Linked DNA regions of Homo sapiens: region 2 is linked to region 1. The links are contacts of gene promoters, found by promoter capture Hi-C in blood cells and fetal thymus (Javierre and others, 2016). All regions are on one chromosome and are shown on one strand. The core of a region is centred on a gene start or on the middle of the fragment in contact, and the rest is flanking DNA. Distances in the headings are between cores, read along the strand shown.

Evidence for each region. The method cuts DNA at HindIII sites, captures the fragments that hold promoters and counts their contacts. A CHiCAGO score of 5 or more calls a contact.
Region 2: a contact is called between the fragment with the promoter of PAFAH1B2 here and the fragment with the promoter of MCAM in region 1, in 1 of 17 cell types (activated CD4 T cells). The highest score is 5.4, in activated CD4 T cells.

The regions. Positions count from the first base shown.
Region 1 is chr11:119,315,189-119,321,278 of GRCh38, forward strand. MCAM (melanoma cell adhesion molecule) reads right to left here and starts at 1,942. Exons shown (of 16, transcript NM_006500.3): 1 at 1,847-1,942; 2 at 1-75. The coding sequence starts at 1,913. RefSeq lists enhancers at 1-628, 3,522-3,571, 5,525-6,090 and silencers at 2,221-2,280, 5,649-6,088. The HindIII fragment of the contact is 17,882 bases long and covers 1-6,090 here.
Region 2 is chr11:117,141,657-117,147,746 of GRCh38, forward strand. PAFAH1B2 (platelet activating factor acetylhydrolase 1b catalytic subunit 2) reads left to right here and starts at 2,631. Exons shown (of 6, transcript NM_002572.4): 1 at 2,631-2,762. RefSeq lists a silencer at 2,841-3,160 and an enhancer at 3,711-3,890. The HindIII fragment of the contact is 2,379 bases long and covers 1,992-4,370 here.

The sequences.
Region 1 (6,090 bases), core at 692-3,191:
ACTTCAGAAGGGCTGTGCTGCCCACTTCCACCTCCACCAGCTCAGGCGCAGGCTGCTCAGCCTCTCCGGGCACACCTGGGGGAGGGAGGCGGGGCCCCCGCAGCTGTGTCAGCTCCGGCTGCTGTCCGCCCCTCCCCTCGCAGCGCTGCTGCAGCTGTTTTTCCTGCCACTCAGAGGGTCTGCAGAGGGCCCTGTCCTCTGAACGCTCTACCCCCACCCCGACCCGCGCCCCACCTGGGCCAGCCCTCTCCCCGTCCAGGAGATCCCAGGTCCTTGGAGCCAAGCAGAGATTGAGCAGAGACTGAGCACCGAACAGCTCCAGCTGAGGCTGGTAGAGGGGCAGAAAGGGGCAACCTAGGCTCGGGGCCAAGAGGAAGGCCCCTTTCCTTCCAGGCCCCCTCCTCTCCGGGTGAGCTCAGAGTGTGGGAATGCAAAGCATGTGCCAGGCTGGGGCACACAGGCCCTTTTGTGTCACCACCGCCAGGGGAAGACACCACTGCTCTATCCTCTGCCCTCCAAAATCCCTGCCCTCACTCCCCAGCGGGCTAACTCTGGCGGAAGTTCCGGTCTCATGCTCCCTCAGCAGCACCTCCATGAACACTCCGCACACACCCGCGGACCCCACCCTAGGTAGCTGGTAAGGATGGAGAGGTCAGAGTCTCCCCCAGGGGTCAGGGCAAGGGCCAGGCAGTGGGCAGGAGTGACGTCAGTGGTGCCAGCGTGCTGCCAGCCCTGTGAGGAGGTGATGTCACTCGACACCATCTGCCTGGGCTCTGGGATGCCTGGGTTGTTACCTTGGCTCTCGGACAAGGAGGGCAGGTGGAAGGTGGGGTCTCCAACCCAGAGCCTCAGACCCCTGACTCCTCCCAGAGCTAGAAGAGCAGGGCAGGGTGGAGCTGGACCGGCTGCAACTGTGGAGCCCGATTTAGCCCTTTCCCCAGAAATAAAGTCAGCCTGGGAGGCAGTAGCCTGGAATACCCCAGGGACATGGTTGGCACTGGGCATGAGGCCAGCGAGCTGGGTATTGCCTAGCCCTCCCCTTCCCCAGCCGGACAGCGGCTGGGACGGCGGAATGGGAGCCAAGAGAAACACGCGACACCGCTGCGGGCCATACAAGGGCAGCGTGGACCCGAGAGCGCCCTGCTACCAGGCGGATCCGGAGAAACGCTCCGAGGTGCCCGGGCGCACTTCCCACCTGAATGTGGTCCCCAAAATAAGCCAGCGGGCGCTTCCAGTATGGGAATCCTCCATCCCTCATCTCTGTCCCCTATGATCCCATCACTCGGGGAGGCGCGAGGCGACCCACACCGCCCCGCAACCCCTGCCAACGCCCAGCTCGGGCGGGAGCCGCCGAACCTCCCGCTCTCGCTCACCTCCAGCCTGGCGTGATGCCCAGGCAGAAGGGGGAAGGGGTGGGTCGGCGCACCCCCTCCAGCGAAGGAAGCTGCCTTTTCCAGCAACAGGCGGGCGCGGAATTCAGGCTTTGAGGATGCGCCCCAGCTGCGCCTCCTGCCCGGCTTCAATTGCGGGCCCCCAGAGTGAGCACCTCAGGGACCACCCACCCCCCAGCACCCCGAAAGGCTGAGCTCCACCCCTTCTCGTTCCCAGAAGCAGCCTCCTCCCCGCCTTCCGAGTGCTGCTCCCGGGATACTCTAGAATCCCGGCTGCAAACTGGCTGCAAAGAAGAGTTGCTCGCGCGCAAGGCGCCCGGGGATCGGGGACCCAGGGAGGAGGCTCGTCCTCCCAGACGCAACGCCCCGACCCCGCCGCGCCGCTGGCTCTGCTCCCTGGCACGCTCCACCGCAGACCCCTAGCCGGGGCGCGGCCCCCCTGCGAGCGAACTCACCCGCGACGCGAGGACAGCAGCAGCAGGCGGCGAGCAAGAAGGCGCAGACCAGCCTGGGAAGCCCCATGCTTCCCGGCCGGAGGGCGAGAGCCAAGTGAGCAGCTCGAGGCTGCCGGGGGCTGACGTCAGGGGGGCGGGGGAGGGGGCCCGGAGCGCCCGGGCCCGCCCCGCCCCGCGCAGCCCCCAGCCCCCGCCCCGCGCGCCGCAGCCCTAGGGGGCGGGCCCCGGCGCCGCCAGCCCGGGAGCTGCGCCTAGGAGCGCTGCCGGAGGTAGGCCAGAGCCGGACTCCCAGGCTCCTGGCTTGGGAAGGCTGAGGGGGTAGTGACAGGTGTCTCGGGGTCTGACTGGCCGAGGTGGCAGCGAGGAGAAGCTGTCCCGGATGCCCGGAGTCGCCCCGGGTCGAAGCCAGCCAGGCTCACCGCTGCTCAGCCCCTGCCAGCCAATGTAGCCCCTAGGGGACCTCCTGGGGGAGGAGCAGTAGCGGACCTGGTCCTCGGTGTCCCCAAGGGGCCTCCCACTTGGGCTCCCCTCCCTTGCCACAGAGAATTCAGGCCGGCCTCTATCGCTTCCCAGAACGATTGCACCACTGCCGCTGCCGCCGGCCTGACACTGCCTCAGCCTCAGTGCTGGCAGCTTTGGGAGAAGAACCCTGCGCCAGTCCCACAGACCCAGAAGTACCTGTATGGGGAGTGCAGACGATGCCTTCTGGGCTGTCCCTTCAAACGCAAGCTCCTGCAAGTCTAGCCTTTGACCAGAGAAAGGAAGGAGGGGGCTGAATTCGCAGGCCCAAGGTGTTCACACTTGTCCAGACCTGGGCCTTGAGAATCATGTTTCTTCCCTCTTCACTCTGGAGCCTACCCTGGAACTCAGTTTCCCCTCACCTAAGAGAAAGAAACAGGGAGAAGAAAGAGTTAATGGGCGAGGGTCCCCAGCCTGACCCTGCAAACCTGTTGCTGTTCCTGATGATTGAAAGGATCCCGGCAGCGCTGATCTTCCCCCACCCCATGTCTTCCCCAGCCCTATTGATTGTGGGTCCATAGCTGAGGGAAGAATCAAATCAGACCTGCTTGGGTGGGGAGCTCTGCAGCTCCCCTTCTCCCAAAACGCCGGCTTCTCCCTGGGTCTTCTGGCCTCTTGAACTAAGGCTCTAGGGAGGGGGAGGTGCTCTTGCCTCACTCTGACCCCAGCAGCCTGGCCTCAGAAAAGGGGTCCACATCTGCTGGCGCGCCTCCACCAGGGAGTGCCAAATAGGGGCCTGGATTTGGGTAGAGGTCTGTTGCCCAGCGGGGCCACCCCTTTGCTCGCTGGGGGAGGTGGAGGGTGAGCCAGCAAACCCTGGAGATGGCCAGGTGACTTGAGAGCATGCTCCGGGGTGGCGTTTTGATGACGCAGAGATGACTGGAAAACCACACCAGGCTTGTCTTTCAGAGCCTTCTCGACCCCTCCTCCAATGCCATTAGTCTCCAGCCAGAGGCTGTGCAGAGCCCAGGCCCACCGGGCCAGGGGCCTGGAGCCTGGAGCCTGCAGGGAGAACAAGAGGAGGACGCTGGCTCGCCCTCCAGAGTGAATGTATGGACTGGCCCCAGGCCCAGAGCTGACTAGATGAGAATGTTTTGTCTGCTGGGCTGGAGTGGGAATGGCTGAAGGATGCCGTTTGCCCTGGCAGGCCCGGCTGGGCATGGAGCTGGCTTCCCTGCCCAACCCCCTTCCTTCACTTAACACCATTAACTAATCATTCGCCTCTCTGGCCTGAAAACAAAGCCAGCTAACCACCAAGGACAGTCAGTTCTGAATTCTTCTTCCGCTGGAGGAGAGTGAAGCCAGGTGGGGGTGGAGGATTTGTCTCTGCGGTGAAAGGGAAATGAGGTCAGAGCCTAGAGCCCAGGGTGACGTCCCTTCGCATTGCCCCACCAAACAAGCACAGAAGACTGTCCTTTAAGGAAGCCAGTAGCCTGGGGCTGTCTAGGCTGCTCGGAAGTGGGTCATAGCCTCAGGGGACAGATAGCTTTGGGATGGTTTCATGAGGTGGGCACTTTGGGATTCCAAACTAAAGACGGGTCAGGACCTCGGAAAGGACGCAGGAGTGGAGGCAGGGAGCAGGGTGGAGGGAGCGGAAGGTGAAGGGGATCAGCCCTCAGCTCTTCTTAGAGGCCAGAGGCTAGTGCTCCGGCAGCCCCAGGGGAGAGAAGGTGGCTGCGGGACTTCCAGCAGGACAGGAGTGACAGCCAGCAGAAGGGAGTTGGAGGAGGAGGCCACGGCCGTCTACCCTGCAGGGACCCAGCACCTGGACTGGGTTGGAAGAGCCTGGCTCAGATGTAGGCCAGGGCCAGAAGAGGCCCTGGGGGCAGAGTCCTAATTCTTCTTTTTTCCCTCGTTGGGTTGCAGGCAAGAAGGCTGCTTTCCTCCAGCCCCATGGTGGACCTGGGCCCCTCACACATGAGGGGACCCTCCTGCGCATAATGCCCTCTGCGTGTCTCTGGTATAGGTCTGACCACAGGTGGAGAAACTGAGGCCAGGTGGGGTGGGGGTCCTGGTTGGGCTCCTCAGCCACAGTCTCCTGGATGGGTGGAGCTTTCAGCTCATTGTAAGGAGAAGTGGAACCCTGGGGAGTTGGAGGTAAAAAGACAAGGATGGACCTGTCCCCAGAGGCCATGAAGGGGCAAGACTGGAACCCAAGTGTCCTCTCTCAGCTCCAGCAAAGGGAACTTAGCGACTTCTGACCCACCCTTCTGGATCCAGGGGCCTTGACCAGGATGTGAGGATATGAGAAGGGTGGGTCAGAAGTAGCTCGAGGAAGGAAGCTGATAAAGAGGTGTTTGCAGCTGCTGTGAGGACATGGGGTGGGAGTCCCAACAATCTTGGCAGTTACCGAGACTGGGGAACCCCCTGGCCAGGCCAGATAATAGGATCCGGCCTGGGTCTTTGGAGGGGGTGCGGAAGTTGGAGAATTTTTCCAGAATGTGGGTGTGAGTAGGAGAAGATTATACTGAAGGAGTGAAAACAGGGTGGAAAAGGGTAGGGGGCAGGAAACCGGATACTGTACTGGGGGGTGGATGGAAGATGTGGGGGAAGAGATTGAATCGGGGGAAGCAGCCCTGCTCCCGCCGGATGCTGTCTCACCCATGTCCTTCGCACCTGACCCAGGGCAGGAGGAAGGAGGCACAGCCGGGATGGAGGTGCACCCCACACCACCATGGGAGAGAGGGAGGGTGGCCTTCTGCGGGATGGGAGGGGCTATTTTTAAACTTGGAAAAACCGTGAGTTCATCTCCATTCTGGAGGCTGCAAAGGCCCCATTGTACAGGGGTCTAGAGAGGGGGAGCGGGGGGAGGGGGCGACGGGCACAATGGCGAGGATTATGTTGGAGCAGGCAGGGGGGTGGAGGGCGGAGAGCGGGGGAGGGGCTGTCTTCGTCACAGATGGCCTACTGAACTCTGGGGTCGAGCCAGGCTGGGGCTTGAACTGGGGGGCAGGGCCCACCCTCACAAAGATCCCCGTTGGGGAACTGGGGTCTCTGACATCCGGTGGCCCATCCTGGGGAGGGGGCTGACGGTGGGATTCCCACAGCCTGGCTTTCCCAGGGACCGCAGGGTCTGTTCCCAGGCTCCCAGCATTCCGACGACTCCCCTGAGAGCTGCTGGCCTCTTCCCTCAGCCCCTTCCCTGCCAGGGGGTGGGGGGAGAGAAGGAGAAAGAGGATGTGGATGCATCGGGACTCCTCCTGGGGATGATGGACTCTTAAGCCAGAGGCGGGGGTTGGGTGGGCAGCAGTGGGTGGTTAGGGTAGGTTGAGCGGGATCGGAGTCCCCAACCCCGCGGACCCCTCCTCCGACCGACTGGGACTGTCCCTCTCGTACCCCCCGGTCTTAGGAGCCTCCGCACGGGGGCCAGCCCACCTGCCGGACCTCAGGCCTCCGGCACCCAGGGCCTCCACCCAGGGGACCCGGCCGCGGCGGGAAGGCGCCGGCGCTAAGCTCCCCAGGAGCCGGCCTCGAGGTCCCGCCCGGCGGAGGCAGGGGGCGGGGATCCGGCCGCTCGCCCCAACCCAAACATTACCATAAATGCTCAGGCGGCTGCGGGTGGATGGGCGCGCGGGGAGCCTGGGGCTCTCCGGAAGCCCCAGATCCAGTCTCCAGGCCCGACCCAGCGCGAGCCCGCGCAGTGATTCGGTCTGACCAGCCGTCCCCTTTACAAAGCGGTGCAGCCGGGGATGGCAGAGCTGGGGTGGGCGCGGGGACAGGGTGGA
Region 2 (6,090 bases), core at 1,381-3,880, 2.2 Mb before region 1:
GAGAGCCAAATCATGAGTGAACTCCCATTCACAATTGCTACAAAGAGAATAAAATACCTAGGAATCCAACTTACAAGGGATGTGAAGGACCTCGTCAAGGAGAACTACAAACCACTGCTCAGTGAAATAAAAGAGGACACAAACAAATGGAAGAACATTCCATGCTCATGGATAGGAAGAATCAGTATTGTGAAAATGGCCATACTGCCCAAGGTAATTTATAGATTCAATGCCATCCCCATCAAGCTACCAAAGACTTTCTTCACAGAATTGGAAAAAACTACTTTAAACTTCATATGGAACCAAAAAAGAGCCCGCATTGCCAAGACAATCCTAAGCAAAAAGAACAAAGCTGGAGGCACCACGCTACCTGACTTCAAACTATACTACAAGGCTACAGTAACCAAAACGGCATGGTACTAGCACCAAAACAGATATATAGACCAACAGAACAGAACAGAGGCCTCAGAAATAACACCACACATCTACAACCATCTGCTCTTTGACAAATTGACAAAAACAAGAAATGGGGAAAGGATTCCCTATTTAATAAATGGTGCCAGGAAAACTGGCTAGCCATATGTAGAAAGCTGAAACTGGATCCCTTCCTTACACCTTATACAAAAATTAATTCAAGATGGAGTAAAGACTTAAATGTTAGACCTAAAACCATAAAAACCCTAGAAGAAAACATAGGCAATACCATTCAGGACATAGGCATGGGCAAAGACTTCCTGACTAAAACACCACAAGCAATGGCAACAAAAGCCAGAATAGACAAATGGGATATAATTAAACTAAAGAGCTTCTGCATGGCAAAAGAAACTACCATCAGAGCGAACAGGCAACCTACAGAATGGGAGAAAATTTTTGCAATCTACCCATCTGACAAAGGGCTAATATCCAGAATCTACAAAGAACTTAAACAAATTTACAAGAAAAAAAACAAACAACCCCATCAAAAAGTGGGCAAAGGATATGAACAGACACTTCTCAAAAGAAGACATTTATGCAACCAACAGACACATGAAAAAATGCTCATCATCACTGGTCATCAGAGAAATGCAAATCAAAACCACAATGAGATACCATCTCATGCCAGTTAGAATGGCGATCATTAAAAAGTCAGGAAACAACAGATGCTGGAGAGGATGTGGAGAAAGAGGAACACTTTTACACTGTTGGAGGGAGTGTAAATTAATTCAACCATTGTGAAAGACAGTGTGGCGATTCCTCAAGGATCTAGAACTAGAAATACCATTTGACCCAGCCATCCCATTACTGGGTATATACCCAAAGGATTATAAATCATGCTGCTATAAAGATACATGCACACGTATGTTTATTGTGGCACTATTCACAATAGCAAAGACTTGGAACCAACCCAAATGTCCATCAATGATAGACTGGATTAAGAAAATGTGGCACATATACACCACGAAATACTATGCAGCTGTAAAAAGGATGAGTTCATATCCTTTGCAGGGACATGGACGAAACTGGAAACCATCATTCTCAGCAAACTATCACAAGGACAGAAAACCAAACACCGCATGTTCTCATAGGTGGGAATTGAACACTGAGAACACTTGGACAAAGGGCGGGGAACATCACACACGGGGGCCTGTCGGGGACTGCGGGGCTGGGGGAGGGATAGCATTAGGAGAAATACGGAATGTAAATGACGAGTTGATGGGTGCAGCAAACCAACATGGCACACGTATACCTATGTAACAAACCTGCACGTTGTGCACATGTACCCTAGAACTTGAATAAAAAAAAAAAAAAAAAAGAAAAATTACTTGACATATCTTGACATTTTAGGCTCCCAGGATTTTACAGTATTCTTAACAGGTTTTGTCAGCAAAATCAACCCCCACCCCCGCATCAGTTTAAGAGCCCTGGAAGGCTCTGCCTATTCACCAGCATAGAGCTGAGATCCTTAAAGGGCCAGTTCAGGGCACTGCTCCAGCAACCGTTGCGCTGCTATAAGCTTGAGCACATCTCTTGCCCCTCCTCTCTACTTTTATAGATCCTGCATTTATTTAGCATATAATCTTTTCAATATTGACTTTGTATATGTATGTCTTCCCCTAAACTGGATGTATCTTTTAAGGAAAAGCCTGGGGTTCGTCATCCCCCTATGTATCACCTTTACAGGCGGTCACCCAAAATCTCCACATTCATCATAGAAACAGAAATTCCACTAATAAATGTCAGGTACTGCCTCCTTAACCTTGGTCCGCTATTTCCCTCCCACTTTCAGCAGTCTGGTTTATTCCATGGGTGGAAGAGGAAGCCAAGTTGGCTGAGTGTGAAGGGAATGGCGTCAGTGTGACTTCACGCCACATCGTCCCGAATGCCAGCTCCACACTGCGGTGGCACGAACGCAGGATTGAGAGATGCAGCTGGAGTAAAGAGAGAAGCCCATGTCCCTCAGACGCCACACAAAATGGGGGTAACCGCGAGAACAAAGCAGGGTACCCAACGGGGTGTGGCGGGACACCTGGGCGCACGCCGCCAGCGCCCGGGAGAGCGAAGGCGGGGAGAGAGGAACCACGCTGAGGCGTGGCAGGATGGGGGCGGGACTTCCGGAAGCCATTTGGCTGAGTGGCAGGGGAACCGGAAGTGGAGGAGCTGCTGCTGGTGCTGGGGCCGGAGGAGGGACGCGCCGGAGCGGGACCGACGGGACCGAGCGAGCGACCGACGCGCCACCCGCCGACGCCTCAGCCGCTTGGGGCCCGCACGGACCCTCTACTTCAGTGAGTGCATCCAGGGTCGCAGGGAACCGGTGGCTTAGAGGCGGGGGTCGGAAGGGGCTGCGAGGTGTTATTGTGAGAGGCCCGCGACCTCCCCTCCCCCACCCTTGCGGCCCCTCCCCCCACGCCGCCCCATCCACTTGGGGGGGGCCTCGCGAGCGCGCGCCTTCTCTGCGGGCCCAGCGTCGGCTTCCCAGCAGCCGGCGCAGCTAGTTTTCGCTCTGAGAGCCCTTTCCCGATATTCCATACCGAAAGCTGGCGTTTCTCCTCAGCCGCCGGCCGGCGCCTCCACGGCCTTTCCCAGGAGGGTAGCGCGGCGGGCGCCCCGCCCCGCCCTGCCCTGCCCTGCCCTGCCGGGCCCACCCGCGGTAGGCCTTGCGCACCCCAGCTCGCCCCGGCTGGGCGCTGCAGCTCCTGCCCGGGTCTCCGCTGCTGCCTTTTCCCTTTATCACAGGGGTCTAACTTCTCACTCTTCTCTCCCCTCGCGTCTGGTCGGAGGCCAAAACCAGTTACTCCGTTGTGTTTTTACCGAGCACTTTTCCCTCCTCCTTTTGTTGAAAAATTTCAACTCTTTAGAAACTTCTCCGTTGCCTCTTAGGATGTGTTTATTCAAAAGTTGCATAGACCGTCACCACTCGGAAGGGATTATTTCTTGGAAGGCTTTCCAGCCCCCATCTCATCTTAGACATGAATGTGCTCGGAGCGGCTGGTGACCTGCCCAAGGTCAGCCAGCTAGATAAACCTGTCAGCGGAGAGGTTTGGGGGGATGTTTTTTTCCTGGCTCACCGTCCGTTTGCCAGATCCGTGCCTTCTGGTCTACAGGTTTGATTGACCCGTTGCGTGGTGACTCATGCTTCTGCTTTTCATAGCTCGCAGGCCAGCGTTGCTTTTCAGAATTTATACACAAACAAGAACTAACACTCGGAGCTTTCGCCTCTTTGTAGAGCTTACCCGTAGAGAAAGGAAAGACCACCCGGATCCACCCTAGGACCTCATTTTGTACAGCTTGAAATTATGGGAAGGGGTTGGGCCGGGGGTAAAGGTGTGGAGAAAGTGGAAGGAGAAAGTGCTTAATTAAGATTGTCTTTGCCTTGGATGTGCCTTGTGTCTTTGGCTTCTTCTGGGCACATTGTTCTGACATAAAGGTTGCCTCCTTGTGGGGGAGAAGGGGAGGATTAGTTTGTTGGCTTGGGCATTTGATCATAAATTATGGAGGTGCTGGACCGGAGGAACCACCCACCAGCCCACGGAGGCTACCGGGCATTCAGGATAAGGGCCGCCTTCTTCTTCAGAATAACCATACCCACTCCCTCTGAAACAAAGTGGAGAGTCTTAGGTCTGAGTGGAAACTCTAAATCTTTTAATTCTTGGTTCAACTTTCTTCATCTGTTTTCCTGGTTCAGACTAAAACATCTAACTCAGCTGGAGAAGTTATAACGCTTTGTTGTTGGACGTGGTTTCTCATTAAATACATTGCACTATGCTGGTATAAGCACTTGGAAATTCTAGTGCTGTATTGTCATAGTAAGTAGAGAATATAGAAAAGGCAGGAAAATCGTGCAAGTCGGTTACTCCTCGTCTTCCCAGAGAACTCACTTTAATGGACAACAAAGCTTCCCCTGGAGTACAGTCTGTTGTGGCAAATTAACAAAACTTGTTCTTCAGACCTTTTATTTGCATTCTGCTTGGTCTTTCTTTCTTTTTTTTTTTTTTTTTTTGTGTGTGTGACGGAGTCTCAGTCTGTCGCCCAGGCTGGAGTGCAGTGGCGCGATCTCTACTCACTACAACCTCTGCCTCCCGGTTCAAGCTTATAGGCATGTGCCACCACACCCAGCTAATTTTGTATTTTTTTTTTTTAGTAGAGACGGGGTTTCGCCACGTTGGCCAGGCAGGTCTTGAACTCCCGACCTCAAGTGATCCACCCGCCTCGGCCTCCCAAAGTGCTGGGATAACAGGCGCAGGAAACCCAAAGTCACTCAGAAGTTTGCGTCTTACCACTGGGTAGCTCTTAGTTCGTTCTTATTTTATGTGTCCATAAGAGCAGATAATTCTTCGTTTCAATTGGAAAGAATACAACAGCTGGAGCCTGAGCAACATGGCAAGACCTCGTCTCTACGAAATTTAAAAATTAGCCATGTGTGGTGGCGTGGGCCTGCAGTACCAGTTACTCTGGAAGGAAGAAATGGGAGGATCACTTGAGCCCAGGAGATCAAGGCTGCAGTGAGCTGTGTTACGCCACTTCACTCCAGCTAACGACTGACTGAGACCCTGTCGGGGTAAAAAACAAAAAACAAAACACAGCCGGCTGGGTGCTGTGACTCATTCCTGTAATTCCAGCACTTTGGGAGGCCAAGGCAGCAGGATCACTTGAGCCTAGGAGTTCAAGATCAGCCTGAACAATATGGTGAGATCCCCATCTATTGGAAAAAAAAAAAAAAAAGGTCAGGCAGCTATTCGGGAGGATCGCTTGAGTGCAGGAGGCGGAAACTGCAGTGAGCCATGATTTCTCCACTGTGCTTCAGTCTGGGCATCAGAGTGAAGCCCTATCTCAAAAAAAACAAAAAAAAAGCCGGCCGGGCGTGGTGGCTCACGCCTGTAATCCCAGCACTTTGGGAAGCCAAGGTGGGCGGATCACCTGATGTCAGGAGTTCGAGACCACCCTGACCAATATGATGAAACCCCGTCTTCACTAAAAATACAAAAATTAGCTGGGCATGGTGGCAGGCACCTGTAATCCCAGTACTCGGGATGCTGAGACGGGAGAATTGCTTGAACCCGAGAGGCGGAGGTTGCAGTGAGCCAAGGTCGCGCCGTTGTACTCCAGTCTGGGCAACGGGAGCGAAACTCTGTCTCAAAAAAAGAAAAGCCAGTTTAATTTTTATTTTTGAGACAGGGTCTTGCTCTGTCCCTGAGGCTGGAGTGCAGTGGCGCACCACCACCCCCAGCTAATTGTTGTGGTTTTTGTAGAGACACAGTTTCACCATGTTACCCAGGCTGGTCTCAAACTCCTGGGCTCAAGCAGTCCACCTGCCTTAGTGTCCCAAAGTGCTGGGATTACAGGCATGAGACACTGTACCCAGCCACAACAGTTTCTCTGATTTCCAAATTGTTTTAATCCTCTATATGCATAGTCTTCTAGGTTGTGCATTTCCAGCTTTGTTCTTAAAGAGGAGATTGTGTGAGTTTGTGGCTCAGTTTTTCTTTTCCTGGTGTTTAAAAATGTTACCAAGCCATGGGCATCAGTAAAACTGAAAGCTGCTTTGTAATAAGATTTTGATTGACAAAATAATACAAAATCAGAGTCAGAAGACACAAAGAAACACATTTCTGC